2 separate regions of the Homo sapiens genome follow, and region 2 is linked to region 1. Evidence: promoter capture Hi-C in 16 types of primary human blood cells and fetal thymus (Javierre and others, 2016). All regions are on one chromosome and are shown on one strand. Each heading gives the region's core, a stretch centred on a gene start or on the middle of the fragment in contact. The rest is flanking DNA. Distances are from core to core; before and after follow the strand shown. Region 1 holds the start of OR1L1 (olfactory receptor family 1 subfamily L member 1). Region 2 overlaps LOC124902265 (a long non-coding RNA gene).

What was found. Contacts are between HindIII fragments. The CHiCAGO score rates a contact against its expected background, and 5 or more counts as called.
Region 2: a contact is called between a fragment that was not itself captured here and the fragment with the promoter of OR1L1 in region 1, in 1 of 17 cell types (neutrophils). The highest score is 5.0, in neutrophils.

What each region holds. Positions count from the first base shown.
Region 1 is chr9:122,659,816-122,663,795 of GRCh38, reverse strand. It overlaps OR1L1 (olfactory receptor family 1 subfamily L member 1), which reads right to left and starts at 2,080. Exons shown (of 1, transcript NM_001005236.3): 1 at 1,148-2,080. The coding sequence starts at 2,080. The coding sequence ends at 1,148. The HindIII fragment of the contact is 3,812 bases long and covers 1-3,192 here.
Region 2 is chr9:122,622,338-122,626,317 of GRCh38, reverse strand. All of the region lies in intron 1 of LOC124902265 (a long non-coding RNA gene), which reads right to left. Among named protein-coding and RNA genes, the nearest start is that of OR1Q1, 9.6 kb to the right of the region's middle. The HindIII fragment of the contact is 2,155 bases long and covers 1,238-3,392 here.

The DNA of each region.
Region 1 (3,980 bases), core at 831-3,330:
TCCCCACTTTTGCAGTAATATCTCTCCTTACCTAAGACCAGATTGGATTTTTATTTGACATCTGTTACTTAAAAGTATGTGTGTTTCTCTGTACCTTGCAAACCTAAAACAATCCAATTAACAGGAAATTGCCCTCCAAATACTTGTATTGCCTGTGTTATTTTGTTTCCTTAGACCCTGCTGATCTTTGGCCTTCAGATTGTTGACTTAAATCATGTAGTACATTATCTTTGTTTTTAAGTCCAGTAGGCTGGTTCATGGTGTATCAGAAGTAGAAATTTGTTGAAAGAGCAAATGAATTCATAAATCTCTGAGTTGCAAGATAATTCATGGACTAGCAGTGACTAATATTTCTCAGAACTCACAAATGAGCAAAAGTGTTTCTTTCCTACCCAATTTGTTTTTCTGGTTGGAAGACTGTCTTCAAAGTCTGTTAAGGAAGAGAACTGCCCCAGCAGTTGGAGGCATCTGCTACTAAGGTTACTGGGACCTAACACATACCTCCCGGGAAAACAGTGCAGTTGAGTTTGGGTCAAATGAAATTAATGAGAGATTTAAGGTACAGTCAGCTTTGCCAGGTGGGAAGCAGGAAGAATACTGAGATGCCATACTCTTAGGAACCTGACCTGGCACTGATTCACTAAGAGTTATCTAGTGGGATGATTTTATTTGTTGAGACTATGACAACTATAGAAGCCAGGCTTTAATCTTTGAGGAAATGCAGAGGAAGGAGTCACAGTTCTGACATTTATAATGGGAGAAAGAGAGAGACCTCGTTATTGAGGAGCCCCTGGGCTAATATGATGAAGCGACACACACACACATACACACACACATGCACACACGCACGCACACACACACAGAGTAGCTCAAAGACATTCAAGCAGCTTTACATTACTATACAAGAAAACCCAGCTGCATGAATAGGGATACTCAGGAGATTACAGTGATCCAACTTAGTTTGTAGGCATTATATTCAGGAGTAGCTTCAATACATGCAATAAACATTCTTCTGTAAGGAATGAAACACCATCATTGAAGGTACTATCCTTTCAGAATCTAATAATCATTTCAGAATCACATACCCATTAATAACCTATAGTCCAGGGCAAGAGATCTGTGGTATTCTCTTAAGACCTTAGGTCTTTTACTGACATTTCATCCTGTGCATCAACTTTGCCAAACCCTGCTTCATGTCTTTGTTCCTCAGACTATAGATAAATGGATTTAGCATAGGAGTCAGTACGGTGTAGATAATTGTTGCTATTTGATCCTTGACAGTATAGTTGGACAGGGGCTGAAAATAGAGATAGCTAATGCTTCCATAAAACAGGGTCACCACTGTGAGATGAGAGCCACAGGTAGAAAATGCTTTACGCTTTCCAGCAGCTGAAGGAATCTTCAGAACAGTGATGAGGATTCTTAAATAAGAGATGATGATGCATGAAAACGGGGTCATTATGACAGCCAAGCCTTCTGTCATTACTGTGATTTCTTTGACAAAATGGGAGGAACAGGACAATTTTAGCACTGGTTGATCATCGCAGAAAAAGTGATGGATGACATTTGAGGCACAGAAGATGAGCTGATTAGTCAGAAGAATGTGCAGGAGGGAGTGAAAATGTGGAATGCAGAAGGAGAGAACCAGAAGCAGGACACAGCATCTGTGACTCATAATGGTGATGTAGTGGAAGGGATTACATATGGCCACATAGCGGTCAATGGCCATGGCTGCTAGCAGGTAACTGTCTGTGTTTCCAAAGGCTAAGAAAAAGTACATCTGGGTCAGACACTCACTGTAAGAGATGGTCTTTGTCTCTGATAAGAAGTTCACCAGCATCTTAGGGATAATGACTGTCACATAGCAAATGTCAACAAAAGACAGGATGCTTAGAAAGAAGTACATGGGCGTCTGGAGACGAGTGTCTGAGCGGATGGCCAGGATGATAAGCAGGTTTCCTATCACTGTGATAAGGTAGATGGGGAGGAACACAGCAAAGAGCGGCTTCTGATCCTCAGGTCGAGAGGAGAGTCCAAGGAGGATGAATTCAGAGGGTCTTGTTAGGTTATTTCTTCCCATAGTTGTGGGTTCACCTAAAGATAAACTAACACTGTAACAGATTCTTCCAACATCTGATACAATCTGTCCAAAATTTCTCCTTTTATTCTTCTTATCAGCAAAGAAAAAATTTAAAACATTACAATTATCTGGATTGTGGTTTCTTTCCATTAATGTGGGATATTTAGAAATTAATATATATTTTAATCTCAGTTGCCTGCTATAAAGAAACAAATTACAGGGAAACAGAAATGGGAAAAAGAGAAAAGAAGAGATATAGGGCAAGAGGAAGGAGTGAGTGCAAGAGAATTCCCAGAAGGAGAGGAGGGGAATCCTGGAGAAATTATTCTCTTCTTTTTCTGTATATATTTATCGTATTCACGGTTTTCAGTAATTAGTTTATGACAGGTTTAAAAAAGTTTCATCTCTCAATTTCCAGCTGATGGAATAATGATTTCCCTTAGTTCGGATACTTCTGTCTGCATCAGTTATTCTGGAGGCTGGCAATCATGTAAAAAGACATTGAAATATGAGATTACCCAACAGTTACTCCATTTCCCTCATTTTTTAGTGAAACCTTATTTGAGTGAAAGGATAGGTATGAAGAGGCAAAAGATAGACAGAAATAACAGGATAGTAAAAACATTTCTTTTCCTTATTTTTTTTTTTTTGAGACAAGGTCTTGCTTTGTCACCCAGGCTGGAGTGCAGTGGCACAATCTTAGCTCACTGCAACCTCTGCCTCCTGGGTTCAAGCGATTCTCCCCCCTTAGCCTCCTGAGTAGCTGGGATTACAGGCTTGTGCCACCACACCCAGCTAATTTTTGTATTTTTAGTAGAGATGGGGTTTCACCATGTTGGCCAGGCTGGTCACGAACTCCTGATCTCAAGTGATCCGCCCACCTTGGCCTTCCAAAGTGGTGGGATTACAGGCATTAGTCACCGCACCCGGCCAACATTTCTTTTAATGTAACATAAACCTCATTTTTGTTATCCAGCCCCTAAATGCTAAAATCGTCATTGTTAGTGCATGCTTGTCTGTGTTGGTGTAATTCTTTTCCCAATTCCAGTCTCAGTTATATATATGCTTCCCCAAAAAACCACACAGAGAAGGCACCTGATTCTAGACAAGCTTTCAACCCTCATGAAGCTGAAGATTTTCCTCTCTTCCTCCTCTGGGCCTCCCACATGCTGAAGAGATTAAAGACACTCATAGACCCCACCCTCTGTCAAGGGAGCATCCTTTGAGATCATCAAGAAGTCCCTGGAGTTCAGATGGAGAAGACAGCAGAAAACAAGCCAAGAACTATTACGGTTTTGGAGTTTCTTCCCCAAGGAGCCTGGGGAGTGTCAGTGCCTTCTCTCTCTCTCAGAAATCACCCTCCTGACCTAACTCCTTTTGGTGAAAAAGACCCCACCTGTGTGAGGCTGGCTCAAGTGACAGACTTCCTGAGCCTCACCGCTGTGCTGCTTACATTGAAAGACAGAATGTGGGGTTGGAGAACGTTTTCTCGGAATTCGTTGATCATCAAGCTAAAACAACTAGAACATCTTATGCCACTAGTCACTTTCCCATCTCCCAGTGTTAGAAGCAGTCCCTTGCTAGACACTGTTCTTAGAACTTTAAAATATAATAAGCAATAGGGTTAAGACTTTAGACCCTAGGCCTGGAATCTTTACTCTTCTGTCTGAAGCATCCTTAAGTCTACTTATGTATGACCCTTGCTTCTCACTCAGGAAAGCCATCAGGGCATATATATATAGCGTTAGCTATTAATTTTATTACAGTTGTAACACACAAACATTAAGCAAACCAGATCGATATTTTTATTGTTAAAGCAACTTTCAAAAAAAGTGGTTGGGGCCGGGCGCGGTGACTCACGCCTGTAATCCCAGCACTTTGGGGGGCCGAGGTGGGTGGA
Region 2 (3,980 bases), core at 1,066-3,565, 38 kb after region 1:
TAAATTAATTTTTAATGTGCATTAAAAATAAAATATAGACAGAAAAATGCAAGCTAACTACTTTGTTGCATAAAAGAAGGAACAATGAACTATCTTAACACTGATTAAAACATTGGTACTTTGCTTAGCTTTTTGGCAGCTGGAAAATTGCTCTCCACTTCGGTGCTTCTTAAAATATTAAAATGGTAATTTTGAGGGTACTCGATTTTCACTTTTATGCATTGACTTTTGCCCTTCACCCCACTTGAGATGCAGCTTCACTCAAATAGATTGTAATGTAATTGTAAGCAGGGTTTCCTGTGCTGAGGATTTCCAGGACATCATCTATGGCTTCTAGAGTTGTAAGAACTCTAGAAGGCACCTTGACAATCACACAACACTCTTCTTGGGACACCTTCAGCATTATTGGTCCAGCCAAAATCTGGTCTTCTCTGCTACTTCTCCTTACTGAGTTTGCTGACTTCTGTCTTTATTCCTCTATAAGCCCCTCCACCCACATCCCAAGGTACTACTTCAATCCCTGGGATCTCCCCATTTCAGGTATAATTTCTATATTCCCCTGACTACTTCCACACTGTCCTCTCACCAGCATCTTCTGTTCACTCAATACATTCTACCTTTCTCAAACCATTGGCAACATCCAGTGGTCTTATCTCAATGCTTAATGTACATTGTCTGCCTGTGAGTTTTGACATAGTTTGTTGGGAACCATCACCTCACCCATATGCATGGCTCCCATGACATTGTACCATTGCTGTCCTCTAATGTCTCTCCATCTTTTCTGTACCTTGTGTGACATCTCTTCCTTCTACTTCAAGTCTTCGGCACCTTGCCTATGCTTGTCTCATCCTGTCACAGAACTCATCCACTCTTAATATATCACTTCTCTTTTCAAATTAATATCACCTTACAGTGAAAATCTAGGAAATTAAATCCTCACAGTAGATTCATTTCCACAGCTCTTCATTTATTGCCATTATCACCACTGATATCTAAGGTTCCAATAAGTCAAGCCTAATTCTTCCTCTGTCTATATCGGTGCTTTTCAACTTTCACTGTGCGTTAGAATCACCTGGGAGTTTTAAAAAATTCAGTTTCCTGGGCCTCCACTCTAGAGATTTGGATCCACTTGCTATGAGGTAAAGCTTAGGTGTCAGTATTTTTAAATATTCCCCAAATGATTCTAATACGTAGCTACAGTCAAGACCATTGGCTTAATGTGATGTGTTTTGAAGCTTATCAATTAATCCTCCTAAAATCTCTTGCATCTGAGTAGTAGTAATAGCTTTTATATAGCATTTACTATGTGTCAGACACTGTTTGAGGATCTCTCCACATATTAACTCACTATGTCTCTCAGCAACCTGATGAAGTAATTGCTGTTATTACCCCCATGAGGCACAGAAAGAATAATTTACTTGCTTGGAGTTAACCCTTGATCAGATCATCTGTCTCCAACTAACCTGTGGCTTGTATTCCATATTTCCCCTCCAAATTGAACTATATTCAATTCTCATAACTTTTACCTCATCTAGATCTTTATCACTTCCTATGCAAATTACAAATGGGCCTCCTTGCTGTCAATCTCTTCCATTGTTCATGGTGTTAATCTTACAGAGTGTACTGCATGAATCAGCACATATGCAGCCCATGTGCATTGGATTTGAAGTCATCAGGCTTCATCCACTTTTGTTCAACTCAATCCCATCACTTCCTCATTGTGTCATTTTGATTGAGGTCTTGCATCTGTGAGCCTGGGTTTTCCCAGAGATGATAATACCTGCATTACTTTCTTCACAAGTTAATTATGCTTCTAACATTGTGCATGCAATTTTGCTTTGTAAACTGTTAAGTAACAGAGAAAAGTTGTTATGATTATGGTCCATTTTTCAAGTCCATCAGCATCATTTTTGAAACTGGATTATACTGTTGAAGAGAGAAAAGGCTATGTTATATATTTATTAATTATTTCCCAAAGCAGCTGGTCACAAAGCATGTGCAAATATTCATAAGCACCCATTGACAACTATGTTCTTTTTTGCTGGAAAAGCTCACAGTTTGTACAGCACTGGTGAAAAAGATACCTTTTTAATTTCTTAACAAATTATACATTTTCCTGGAATCCTGCCCCTGCCCCCTCTATTCTCTTCTCTTCTCTGTCTTTCCTTTTCTTCCTCTCCCTCTTCTGTTTCTTCTGCTTCTGCTTCTTTTGACAATTTCCTAGCACAGTGCTTTTCAAACTTTACATGGAACTTTTATTTCTAATAATAATTTTTCATGTAATTCCAATGTTGCTGCTCAGTGGACCACACATTGAGTAAGTAGCAGGGTCTTAGTGTGCTTTATTTGATTAAAAAATTATCCTACCACTAGAATATAAAAATTTTATTCATATGCATATTTTCATAATAACAATTTACATACAGTTTTGCAAAAATGTTTAAAATAATGTCAAAATAATTTTCCATGGTGTTACAGTGTCACTGTTATAAGAATTTTCATGGCTGCTAAATACCTGGTGGTAGGAACCATTTAATTCTTCACCCTCAAGTGTCCATAAAGAGAACCAATCTTACCTCACAGTGCAGAAGTAAACAAACTGGCAGGAAAATTTCTAGTCTAACCCTCACCTACCACTTATACACAGGAAGAGGAGGAATTTTTCTAATTAGTAATCTTTACATTTATTCTGGCTAGCCCTGAGCTTCAATCTTCTGTGTGAGTGGCACAGAACAATCCCACAGCATATCAGAAACATGTGATAGCTCTAAAAGTATACTGATGCCCAGGTCATACTACAGACCAATTAATACAGAATCAGTAGAGGTGGGCCCAGACAGGGATATTTTTGATTCTCTCCAGGTGCAAAGCCAGGATTGGGAACCATGGCTGTATGAACTAATGTGACTGTAAGTAGTCACGCTTCTGCTCTCTCTGTCCAGGTACAGGAAAGGTTAAGGGGAAACTATCCTCAATTGGGAGGAGGAAGAGAAGAGTCACTCTGTTATGAACTGAATGTTTGGGTCCCCCAAAGATCCATATGTTGAAACTTTAACCTCCTAGGTGATAGTGTTAGGAGGTGGGAGCCTTGGGAGATAATCAGGTTGTGAGGGTGGAGGCTTCATGAATGGAATTAGTGCCCTTACAAGAAGAGGTCAGAGAGGGCTTCTTTATCCTGTCTCTCTGGCGCTCCACTGTGTGAGGATACAATGAGAAGATGGCCATCTGAAAACAAGGAAGCCTGCCCTCACCAGACACTAGATCTGCCCGCACCTTGATCTTGGACCTTCCAGCTTCCAGAACTGCAAGGAATAAATATTGTTTAAGCCACCTAGTCTATGTTAATTTGTTATAGCAGCCCTAACTGACAGATTTACTGTTATAATAAAGCTTTGATCCTGATGTGACCCTTTTTGTCTGCTCCGTTGGTTAGAAGCTGAGCGGAACAGGGATGTGATCTCTTAACTTCCTACAATAAACACTGAGTGGGTACACCACTATTTGTTTTCTTCTGTAAATTAATGTTGTCTCCTTTGTGTTGCAATTAATATATACACTTCCTCCATAGTTTGGATTACTTCCAGATGTGGGGTTACTCAGACAGTATATGATCTTATTTTAGCTCATTTTTTCTCATAATTTGTATTGCATTTCACATTTTTTGTTATCTTTACCCCCACTAGATATCTAGAAGCTTATACATCTTACTTTTATTTAACTGCTGGTCATATTTACATTTTTCAAAAACATATCTTTGGATGCCTTCTGACACATACTGTGAGATTTACCATGATTTTTCTGCTATTGCTGCAAATGCATTTGGTTTTTATTTTATTTTTTTAAAATAAGATTAATATTTTAATGTAGCTTTAGGGCTGGGCATGGTGGTTCATTCCTGTAATTCCAGCACTTTTGGAGCCCAAAACAGGAGAATCACTTGAGGCCAGGAGTTCAAGATCAGCCTGGGCAACATAGTGAGA